Regions from separate parts of the Homo sapiens genome. Here all the other regions are linked to region 4. The links are contacts of gene promoters, found by promoter capture Hi-C in blood cells and fetal thymus (Javierre and others, 2016). All regions are on one chromosome and are shown on one strand. The core of a region is centred on a gene start or on the middle of the fragment in contact, and the rest is flanking DNA. Distances in the headings are between cores, read along the strand shown.

Region 1 (2,700 bases), core at 115-2,614, 570 kb before region 4:
TGCGAAATATTTCTAGGAGAAAATACTCAAGACCTAAATCTATGGAGATATATATCATCCCTGTGGCCTGGAAAAGTTAATATTGGCAAGTTGTCCATCTTGGCCAGGACCCTGAAAGATAGTCTATGTTATTGTAAGAAAGATTGGTGTCCTTGGGGGCATGGGCTTTTAAGCCAGGGTGGAATCTGCAGAAGTCTGAGGTGCCATTTCCTGTCCCTATACCTGGGAGAAAATAGCTCTCAGACAGCTGTGTGGCTTTCTGCAAAGCTCAATTAGAAGAGAAATTATCAGGCGTGGTGGCGCATGCCTGCAGTCTCAGCTACTTGGGAAGCTGAGGTGGGAGGATCTCTTGAGCCCAGGAGTTCGAGGTTGCAGTGAGCTGTGACTCCAGCCTGTGTGACAGAGTGATACGCTGTCTGGAGAAATTCATCATGGAGATATGCTGATAATTGGTGGTCCCTGCCTACATCCTCCCAGGAGACTGAGCCAGACCCGGTGTGGCCAATGGTCCACTTATAAATTGAACCATGTTAGACCTCCTAACAGTGCAAGTACTCATTACAGCTCTGACATGGTGCTAAGCACCCCAAGTATTATAAACAAGTGTAATCCATTATGCACACACGGTGAGGCTACACCAAAGTCTGGTGGTTAAATGCATGATCTGTGGAATCAGACAGCATGGGTTCAAACCCTGGCTGGGGTGAGATGGGGAACTTTCTAAGGCTTAAATGCTGTTTTACCAAATATTTTAAAAGAAGTGAAAATACACTGCCTGTTAGAAAGGGAAGTTTTGGGGTGAAGCATGTGGGCAGTTTAGAATACCTGGTGTCCACCTCAGAAACCATCACAGCCCAGATGTTATAGGTTCAGGCCTTTCCAGGGCGGGCACATAGAATGTCCTCGCCTCCAAGGTTTGGAGAGCTGCGCTATAAAGGTTCTTGCAGGCGGTGTCCTGAGCCCAGAGCTGCCTGCAGGCGGGCAGGAGTTGTGGGGGTGTTGGCATGATCTGGTGTCCTCTGTGGCGGCTGCCTGAAAAGAAGAGGCCGAGGGTTCTTTGTCCTATGTCTCTCCGAATCTTAATACCTGCCCTGCAGCAGACTCCCTGGCTGCCAGGGCACACCGGTCACCCCGGTAGACGGTGCCGCCCCGCCCTCGCCAACCCCTTATCCCAACTCCCATTTCCAGCCTTCCAGGAAGCCCGATCCCCACCCCCGCACCATGTGAGCTGCTCCTCTACTCCGCGTAGGGGAGGCTCTGCCTCCGGTGACCCCGAGGGAAAGAGCTAGAGCACCCACAGGTGCTGACTGCTGCGGCGCTGAGGACGCTGCACACCCGTTCACCGGCTGACCCAGTGCTGCTGACAACCAGCGTCCGCGGCCCCCAACCGTCGAACAGAGCGCGTGGGACCATCTGGTGCCAAACGCCTGCAACGGAGTGCAGAAGGTCACGAGGCGCTAGAGACCGGTTGGGGGCAGGCGGTTGGGCCTTGACGCTCTTTGCTGGGCGTCGTTTTTTCTTCTCGCCCCCTTCGCTCCTGTGCGCTTAGTGCACAAGCCCTGGGCTCACACACCCTTTCTCTGTCACGTGTTCCAACAGCATCTCACCTGCATCGGGCTGAACAGGAGACCTCAATTTTCTCCTCTACTCCAAGGATTCGCCGGCTCACAATTGCTCTTCATATCTTCAGCAAGCTTTGTCTGTGCCCTGCCCCTCTGTCCCCCATTGCCTACCATACCCGCTCCCACCAAGCCTGCATCACCTCGCTGTCTCTGTGCCTCTCCCCGGCCCCCTTCCAGGCCTTTCTCCCACAATTTCTGGTCTTTGCTCCTGGGTGTTCCGTCGACCCTAAGAGGCGGTGTCTGATCTGGCAGGCTCAATGCCTTTCTCTGGCGCTGTCTGCACCTCCAATATATTCAGTGACTCAGGAAGGATCCATCCTGCAGGGCCCAGATAGACTCTCCTGTTTGCCACCTGAGCAGAAAGGCACCTCTGTGAGGTCTTTGCCACCCAGTCACCCTACCAGACCCAATCAGCACGTGGGAGACGTGGATGACAGGAGGACAGAGATGGAGAGGGACCAAAAGACTACATGGGGCCTTGAAGGATGTCATAAGAACGTTGCCTTTTACTGAGAGATGGGAACCATGGAGGGTTTCAAACTGCTGAGACTGGCATGATATGACTTAGGGCTTTTTTGTTTGTTTGTTTGTTTGTTTTTTCTTTTTTGTGACGGAGTCTCAGAGTCTTCCTCTGTCATCCAGGCTGGAGTGCAGTGGTGTGATCTTGGTTCACTAGAACCTCTGTCTCCCGGGTTCAAGACATTCTCCTGCCTCAGCCTCCCGAGTAGCTGGGATTACAGGCACCCACCACCACGCCCGGCTAATTTTTGTCTTTTTAGATGTTTTATCTCAGAGAAAGAGCTTCCATGTTCTCTAACTCTTGTAAACAGGTATTCTTCAAGAAACTTTACAATATAACATTCATACACAGAAGTGTACAAATCATCTGTCTATTCCTCAATACATTTTTGCAGAATGAACAAACCTATGTAATCTAGATCAAGAAGCAAAACACAGGCACCTCAGAATCAACCTCATGCTCATTCCTAGTCACTATGCCCCTCCCAAATTTTTAACATTATAGATTAGTTTTGCCTATTTAAAAACTTTATATAAATGGAACCCTACCATGTGTCCT
Region 2 (2,700 bases), core at 165-2,664, 590 kb after region 4:
AGGTGGTCCGCCCGCCTCGGCCTCCAAAAGTGCTGGAATTACAGGTGTGAGCCACCGTTCTAGGACATGTATTTTTGATAGATACATACACCTGCCAGGCAGGATTCACAGTGGTTTGTGATTCTCCCCTGACTCCAAGACTCCAAGCCTAATCCCCGCCCCTGACCAGCTTCTCCTCTCTGAAGGGGAATGGACCCCCCAGCTGGTTGCCGGCCCAAGTGTGCAGAGCCGCGGTTGCGCGCTGGGTGGAGGGGTCCCCCAAGCTCCGGTGCTGGTGGGGCCCGAGGATGCTGTGTCCTTGCGGGCCTCCCTAGCGCTACGAGGACACCTCCAGGCGGCCCGCGGGGACAACAACGGCATTGCGGCCTACCACCTAAAGCTCCTGGGAGGACAACGGGGTTGCAGTCTAGTCGACTGTTCAGGGTGTCCCGGACTCCGGGCTTTAACAGTCGGTAAGGACCCAAACACCGCTGTCCACTGCCCCGACTCCCACCCGCAGAGGGCGCGACCAACCCAGCTCCTAGAGCCACACGCTGCCTCTGGGGGCTTGGCGCCCACACTCTCTCTGCTTGTCTTCCCCTGGCCCGAGAAGCCTGTCCAACCGGCCGAGAGCCATTTCCCTACGGGGTCTCGTCCCTCTGCACGTGCCCAGGGCTGGGACCCCAGACACAGACCTGCCCCGGACGAGGGAACGCACGGAGCTTCCCAAGATGGTTTGAATCAGTAACTGACGGCAAAAGCACGCTTGTGCCCGGCGTCTCTCCCAGTGCCCCGTGCCCTTGGGACCCAAAGTCCGAACCGGTAGCCGGGCGCGGTGGCTCACGCCTGGAATCCCAACACTTTGGGAGGCTGAGAATCGTTTGAGCCCAGGAGTTCGAGCCATTCTGGGCAACATAGGGAGACCCATCTCTGCAAATAATAATAATAATAAATAAATAAATAAATAAATAAATAAATAAATAAATAGCGGGCGCGGTTGCGCGCGTCTGTGGTTCCAGCTACTAGGGGAGTTGAGGTGGGAGGATCGCTTGGGCCCAGGAGTTCGAGGCTGCAGTGAGCCAAGATCGCGCCACTGCACTCCAGCCTGGGCGACAGCGAGACCCCGTCACACACAAAAAAACCCCTAGCTTCCTCTTCTCCCAGAATGCAGGAGTTAGGTGAGGACCCTCTGTTCCCTCCAACCCAAGACCTAGGAGTCCGAACACATAACGCCCTCCAGGCGGTGCCAGGATCCCCAGAACTGCTGTCCCCTCAAGAACACACGTCCCCTACGTGGGAGGCCGCGACCAGCGACTCCGCCCACTTCTCCCAGCCGGCTGTTACGTAACTGCAACGACAGCCAGTCAGACGCGGCAGCGCCGGATGGCGGGAGGCGGGAGTTGGAGGCCAAGGGAAGCGCTGGGCGGAAGTGGCTGTGGCTTTGCCCTTTGGCCTTTGCTGGCTGTGTGGCGGCTCCGCGGTTCGCAGGTCGTTCGCTGAGCGTCTCTGCTTAGCCGCGGTCATGAGCCGGCACAGCCGGCTGCAGAGGCAGGTTCTGAGCCTGTACCGCGATCTGCTGCGCGCCGGGCGTGGGAAGCCGGGCGCCGAGGCGCGAGTGCGGGCAGAGTTCCGGCAGCATGCGGGCCTGCCGCGGTCCGACGTGCTGCGCATCGAGTACCTGTACCGCCGCGGGCGGCGCCAGCTGCAGCTGCTACGCTCGGGCCACGCCACCGCCATGGGCGCCTTCGTACGCCCGCGGGCCCCGACCGGGGAGCCTGGCGGCGTGGGTTGCCAGCCTGACGACGGCGACAGTCCAAGGAACCCCCACGACAGCACGGGGGCACCGGAGACCCGCCCCGACGGACGGTGACAGGCGAAGAGCCGAACTCGCTCGATGGCGTGGTGGAGCCAGGAGGCTCGCCTGACTGCATGGGGGGACTGGGGAACCCGCCTAAGGTGAGAGGTCTTAAGAGACTAGCTTGACGAATTGGGGATGTCAGAGACTCCTCCTTGGCGACGCAGGGGGCCTAGAGAGCCCCGTGATGGACGGCAAGGGAGGCCCGCCTTTTCCGATGCTTGGAGACAGGTCGGTGCTCCTCCCCCATGAGGGCTTGGGGCGGCCTGGGACGCTGGCGGGCTGGACAGTGTCAAGCCAAGAGCTACTTGCCCGAAGGTACGGGGAGCCAGGACGACCCCCGGTGGACAGGGAGAGCCTGAGACGCCCTTCTCTTGACCCCTGAGAACATACCCACTTCTGGCTCCTCAAGGAGTCTCCCCTCTCCTGTATTTAACTCTGAGAAGTGCAGACTTTTTGCTGAGAACGTTTTGGGAAGGTGCCCTGATGAGCGGTGAGAAGCCCGGAATCCCCTTCTGGAAAACTTTCCCCCATTAATTGTGACAAGCCAGGACCATGAGGAAGGGGTAGGGGTCTATCACCCTGGTTGATCAACTGAAGACCCCCAAAGGCCCCTACTTGATGGTTTTGAGGGGCAACATTGACTCATTTGCCCCTTCCCTCTCGGAATGTTGGACAAAGGGAATAAAATTGGGGATATGTCTACTTCCCTGTTGGTGGTCTTAAAGCTTTTATATATTTCAGGATTTTTGAAACACCCCCAGCCCCCCTGCCACCACACACACACGCACACAGACACCTGGAAGGGACCATCTGGGAGGTGATAGGTGTGGGGATCTGACTCCTTCCGGAGCCCTGTAGACTGG
Region 3 (2,700 bases), core at 201-2,700, 530 kb after region 4:
CCTGAGGCCAAGAGTTCAAGACCAGCCTGGGCAGCATATTGAGACCCTGTCTCTACAAGAAATTTTAAAAATTAGCTGGATATGGCGATGCATGCCTGTAGTCTCAGTTACTCTGGAGCCTGAGGTGGGAGGATTGCTTGAGCCCAGGAATTTGAGGTTGCAGTCAATTATGATTGCACCAATGTACTGGGTGACAAAGCAAGACCCTGTCTCAAAAAAAAAAGTATGGTCTTTGAAAAGTCACATTAGCATCACCTGGGTACTCGTTAAAAATGCAAATGTTTGGGTCCCACCTCAGACCCACTGAACCAGAAACTCTGAGGTTGGGACCTGGAGATCTATGGTGCCCCCGGGTGATCCTGGTGGGCTGCACTGCAAGGACACCTGGCCTGGCTCCTGCAAGGCAAGGCATCCCTCTCTGCTTTTCTTTCTTTCTTTCTTTCTTTTAAAGACAGAGTCTCACTCTGTCACCCAGGCTGGAGTGCAATGGCTGGATCTCAGATCACTACAATCTCCACCTCCCGGGTTCAAGCAATTCTCTTGCCTCAGCCTCCCGAGTAGCTGGGATTACGGGCGTCCGCCACCACACCCGGCTAATTTTTGTATTTTTAGTAGAGACGGGGTTTCTCCATGTTGGCCAGGCTGGTCTCCAACGCCTGATCTCAAAAGATCCGCCCGCCTTGGCCTCCCAACGAGCCGGGATTACAGGCGTGAGCCACCGCCCCCGGCTGTCAGTGTGTCTTGAGGTCTTTCCCTAATCCCAGATGGCACAAGTTTTCCCTCTTGCAGGCAGAGAAAGGAGCCTTGGGAAGGAGCCCCTCTGGCCTGAAAGATCAAGCCTATTGCTGGGCATGGCCAGGTAAGGAAACTCCAACCGTGGAAAGGACATTCCAGGGAGGTGGTGCTGAGATAAGGGGGGCAGAAAGAGACAGGTTTGGGGGGCCAGTGGCTCTGGAATGAAGCGCTACACTCAAGGCTAGGAATAGTTACTGAATGCACATACACACATACCATTCTCACAGCCCAGGTGCTGCGTCTTAGAGCGTGTGAGTGTGTATGTGTGTGTCTGTGTGTGCGCGCGCACGCACGTCTCTATCTCTGTTTCTGTCTTTCTCTGACTTGTCCTTATCTCTTGTCTCTCCATCACTCTCTGTGTCTCGCTGTCTCTGTGCATTTCCATGTCTCGAATATGTGTGTGTTTCAATCTGTCTCTCTGCCTCTTTCCATTTTCTCCTCTCTATCCATCAATCTAAGCCTGCCCATCTTTTTGTCTGCCTTTCTGTATCTCCGTTCTTCTCTGTCTCTCTGTCTCAGTCTCTCTGTATCCAGGGATTCTCTTTCCCAGCAGCGCCAGTGCGACTCCATGGGAGGTGGGGCCGGGGCGCGTCTTTGAGAGAAGGGGCGGGTGCCTACGCCTTTAAGCGCGGGTGCGCGCGGAGCCTGCGCCTTTAAGCGCCGGTGCGCGCGCTGCCCTGGGTTGCCGGCGAGGAGGCCGCGGGAGCGCCTGGACCCGGCCCGCCCAGCCCGGCCCCCGCCCGGCCCCCGCCTCGGCCCCGGCGGGGGAGGGGTCTCTGAGCGCGGCCCCTCCCCCCTGCGCCCCCGCCTGCGCTGCGGTGCCCCCATCCCGCGTGTCCCAGTCTGTCTGACCGTCCCTCCGCTCCCAGGCCTCGCCCCACCCGGCCCTGGGGCTGCCCGGTCGCCCCCCTCCCCACCGCAGCCGGTCCCCTCCCTCCCAGTCAGCCTCCGCCGCAGCCCAGGAAGCCAGCCGGGACGCCGCCGCCCCGGACCCCGCGCCCTAACCTCCACCTCGGGGGCCTGCACCCCCAGATTGAATCGGGAATTCCGGAAACCCGAGCCTGGAACCCTGATCTGGGACCAGCACCCCGAGATCCGGCCGTGGAACCCCAAGATCTGGAGCCTGAACCCCAGTATATGGGGCTGGAATCTCAACATCGGTCACTGGGACCTCAATATTTGGAGCCGGAACCCCACAATTTGGAACACAGACCCCAATATTTGGAGCAGAACCCCAAGATTTGACATCTAAAACCTCAAGCCTGGAGCTGAACTCTGAATTCTGGGCCTGGGACCTTGAAATCTGGGACTGGATTTCCAGTACTGTACCCTGGAACCCACTCTTGGGGACCTGAACCCTGGGATTCAGGCCTCAAATTCCAAGATCTGGACTGTGGGATTCCAAGGGGCCTGAACCCGAGTTTGGGCCTGAAGTCCTTGCTGCAGACCTGAGTGCTTAAATCTGGGGCTTGAGACCTCCCAATCTTGACTCAGCACCCCAATATCTGAATGCAGAACCCCGGGATCGGATCTCAGACTCTAAACCCCACCGTTTGGCTGCTTAGCATCCCAAGACTGGACCTGGGAGACCCTGACCCTGAACAACCCAAACTGGACCCGTAAAACTGGACCCTAGAGGCCCAATATTTAGGGGTCTGGAACCCCGAGTATTAAGGTCTGGAGACTCCGTTGCCACAGATTTGAGCCGAGTCAGGACACAGTCCCTCTACAGAAGCCTTGGGGACAGGAAAAGCATGACCAGATGCTCCCTCCAGAGCCCTGACCTCTGACTCCCCTGGAGCTAGGACTCTGCTCCCTGGGGCTGCTTCTAGCTCAGGTAAGGCTGCTGAAACCTCAAGGTGGGGACGGGCTGGGAGGAGCATTGTGGCTGCGGGTTACGGTACC
Region 4 (2,700 bases), core at 183-2,682:
CTGCATCATGGGAGTGGGCGGTGCGACATCTCAAGTCCAACTCAACCGAGCCATGGTTCAGGCTAAGTTCCCGCTGGTGCCCCTACCTGGAACGCTCTTCAGATAGTGGCTCCTTCTCACCCATTCAAATGTCCCAGGCCTTTCCTGACAGGCCCTGCCCATCTCTCTCTCTCTCTCTCTCAATTTCCCTGCTTGCTTTTTGTTGTTGTTGTTGTTGTTGTTTGATTTTTGGTCCTTTTTTTTTTTTTTTTTTGAGGCAGAGTCTTCCTCTGTCGCCCAGGCTGGAGTGCAGTGGCATGATCTCGGCTGACTGCAATCTCTGCCTCCCAGGTTAAGGTGATTCTCCTGCCCCAGTCTCCTGAGTAGCTGGGATTACCAGTGCCCGCCACCATACCTGGCTAATTTTTGTATTTTTAGTAGAGACAGAGTTTCACCATGTTGGCCAGGCTGGTCTCAAACTCCTGACCTCAAGTGATGTGCCCGCCTCAGCTTCCCAAAGTGCTGGGGTTACAGGCATGAACCCCACCACGCCTAGCCGATTTATTTTCTTTCCCTTTTTTTTCCCCCAGACAGGACCACTGGATTGGAGTGGTGCCATCATAGTTCATTTTAATTTCCAACTCCTAGGCTCAAGTGATCCTCCCGCCTCAGCCTCCTGAGTATCTAGGACTACAGGTGTGCACCACCATGCCTGGCTAATTTTTTATTTTTATCCTTTTTTGTAGAGACAGGGGATCTCACTATGTTGCCCAGGCTGGTCTCAAACACCCAGCCTTAAGCAATCCTCCTCCTGCCTCAGCCTCCTAAGTAGCTGGGATTATAGGTGTGAGCCACCATGCCTGACTTTTTATCTCACTTTTTGTAGAGACGGGGTATCGCTATGTTGACCAGGCTGGTTTTGAACTCCTGGCCTCAAGCAGTCCTCCTGCCTGGGCCTCCCAAAGCGTTGAGATCACAGACGTGAGCCACCTTGCCTGGCCTACTTCCTTTCTTCCTGTAAAATTGCCTTGTTGGTTTGTCTACTTGTTTTCTGTTCATCCTGTTCACTCTTGTCTCCAGCTCCTAGAACAGTACCTCACACAGAGTAACGGCTCCATGTGTTTTGTGACAGGGAAGCAGACAGTGTGGCTTGTTGGAGAGGAGCCACATACCCCCGCCCCCCGATTCATACATGGTGTGACTCAGCCCGAACCATTGCTCAGTTGAGTTGGATTTGAGATGATGCACTGCCCACTCCCGTGATACAGCTGTGTGTGAGGTCAGCACAGTCTTGGGGTGCTGCCAGACAACTTAGTTTGAATTCTCCCTTTGACTCATTGGAACCTAGACCTCAGCACCAAAGATGTCCCCATACCAGTAACCCGGGCAACAGAATGCAGATAAAGGACAGGAGACAAAAGGCGCAGGTTCTGACACATTCTTTGCTTGTGTCATCAGCTAGCAAGTATTCACAGGCACATCCAACCTCCATCCTTACATTCCACAAGGATTTGAGTGTCTGTTATAGGCAAGGGACAATGCTAGGTTTTTTTTTCTAAAAACAAACTTGGGGCTGGGCATGGTGGCTCACACTTGTAATCCTAGCACTTTGGGAGGCCAAAGCGGGTGGACTGCCTGAGCTCAAGAGTTCGACAACTCTTGGTAACATGGTGAAACCCCGTCTCTGCCAAAAATACAAAAAATTAGCCAGATGCAGTGGCGTGCACCTGTGGCCCAGCTTCTCGGGAGGCTGAGGTGTGAGGATCACTTGAGCCCGAAAGGTGAAGGCTGCAGTGGGCCGCGATTGCACCACTGAACTCTAGCCTGGGCAACAGAGTGGGACCCTGTCTCAAAACAACAACAACAAAATAAGAAAGAAAGAAAGAAAAAGCGGAAGTGAGAGATGGATGTGCGTGTAGTCGTGTGGGATAATTGCCCATGGGAAGGAAACAGAATTCAACCTCTTGGAATGTAGGGGGAGGAGGAAGCCTGAAAAAACTGTTCAAATTTGGATTCTGGGCTGAGCACAGTGGCTCACGCCTGTAATCCCAGCACTTTGGGAGGCAAGGCAGGCGGATCACTTGAGGTTCGGAGTTCGAGACTAGCCTGGCCAACATGGTGAAACCCTGTCTACAAAAAATACAAAAATTAGTCGGGCGTGGTGTTGCACACCTGTAATCCCACTACTTGGAAGGCTGGGGTAGGAGAATCACTTGAACTAGGGAGGCAGAGGTTGCAGTGAGCTGAGATCGCACCACTAAACTCCAGCCTGGGTGATAGAGCAAGACTCTGCCTCAAAAAAAAAAAAATTGGACTCTGGGTGAAATAAGTCTGTTGGGGACAAAATCTGGTGGGAGACCCAGAAGGTCAAGCTGCTTTAGAAAGAGCTCAACCACTGACTTTCCTCTTTTTGACCACATGACTCTTCCAGGTATAAAAGCCTGCCGTTGGTGGAAAAGGAAAAGGTGGTCCAGTTAGACAAGATGCCACCGGCTTCTGAAACCAGACATCTTTGAAAACCCACCCATCTACCTGCAGGAAAAGGCAAGGGACCTGACCTCGCCTGGGCTCAGGGAAGAGGTTGCTGGGATCATAACCCCAGGAAGAGACGGGATGGAAGGAGAGCATGCAGGGAGCAGAGGACAGGCTACTCTCCAAGGAGGAGAGGGAAGAGGCCACAGAAATGGAAAAGGGGCCAGGACAAGTCAGTGGAGAGATGGT

What was found. Contacts are between HindIII fragments. The CHiCAGO score rates a contact against its expected background, and 5 or more counts as called.
Region 1: a contact is called between the fragment with the promoter of LINC01801 here and the fragment with the promoter of LINC01531 in region 4, in 9 of 17 cell types (naive CD8 T cells, total CD4 T cells, naive CD4 T cells and 6 more). The highest score is 19.9, in naive CD8 T cells.
Region 2: the fragment with the promoter of SDHAF1 here is called in contact with the fragment with the promoter of LINC01531 in region 4 in 10 of 17 cell types (M0 macrophages, total B cells, neutrophils and 7 more); the score reaches 14.9 in M0 macrophages.
Region 3: the fragment with the promoter of LRFN3 here is called in contact with the fragment with the promoter of LINC01531 in region 4 in 2 of 17 cell types (total B cells and neutrophils); the score reaches 7.4 in total B cells.

Annotation. Positions count from the first base shown.
Region 1 is chr19:34,831,505-34,834,204 of GRCh38, forward strand. It overlaps LINC01801 (long intergenic non-protein coding RNA 1801), which reads right to left and starts at 1,365. Exons shown (of 6, transcript NR_033982.1): 1 at 1,221-1,365; 2 at 826-1,032. The HindIII fragment of the contact is 2,823 bases long and covers 1-1,692 here.
Region 2 is chr19:35,993,774-35,996,473 of GRCh38, forward strand. SDHAF1 (succinate dehydrogenase complex assembly factor 1) reads left to right here and starts at 1,415. Exons shown (of 1, transcript NM_001042631.3): 1 at 1,415-2,539. The coding sequence starts at 1,502. The coding sequence ends at 1,849. RefSeq lists enhancers at 378-877, 1,212-1,261, 1,522-1,601 and silencers at 1,662-1,721, 1,752-1,871. The HindIII fragment of the contact is 4,511 bases long and covers 1-2,560 here.
Region 3 is chr19:35,934,924-35,937,623 of GRCh38, forward strand. LRFN3 (leucine rich repeat and fibronectin type III domain containing 3) reads left to right here and starts at 1,451. Exons shown (of 3, transcript NM_024509.2): 1 at 1,451-2,632. The HindIII fragment of the contact is 21,793 bases long and covers 1-2,700 here.
Region 4 is chr19:35,404,175-35,406,874 of GRCh38, forward strand. It overlaps LINC01531 (long intergenic non-protein coding RNA 1531), which reads left to right and starts at 1,433. Exons shown (of 5, transcript NR_040046.1): 1 at 1,433-1,507; 2 at 2,411-2,700. The HindIII fragment of the contact is 14,783 bases long and covers 1-2,700 here.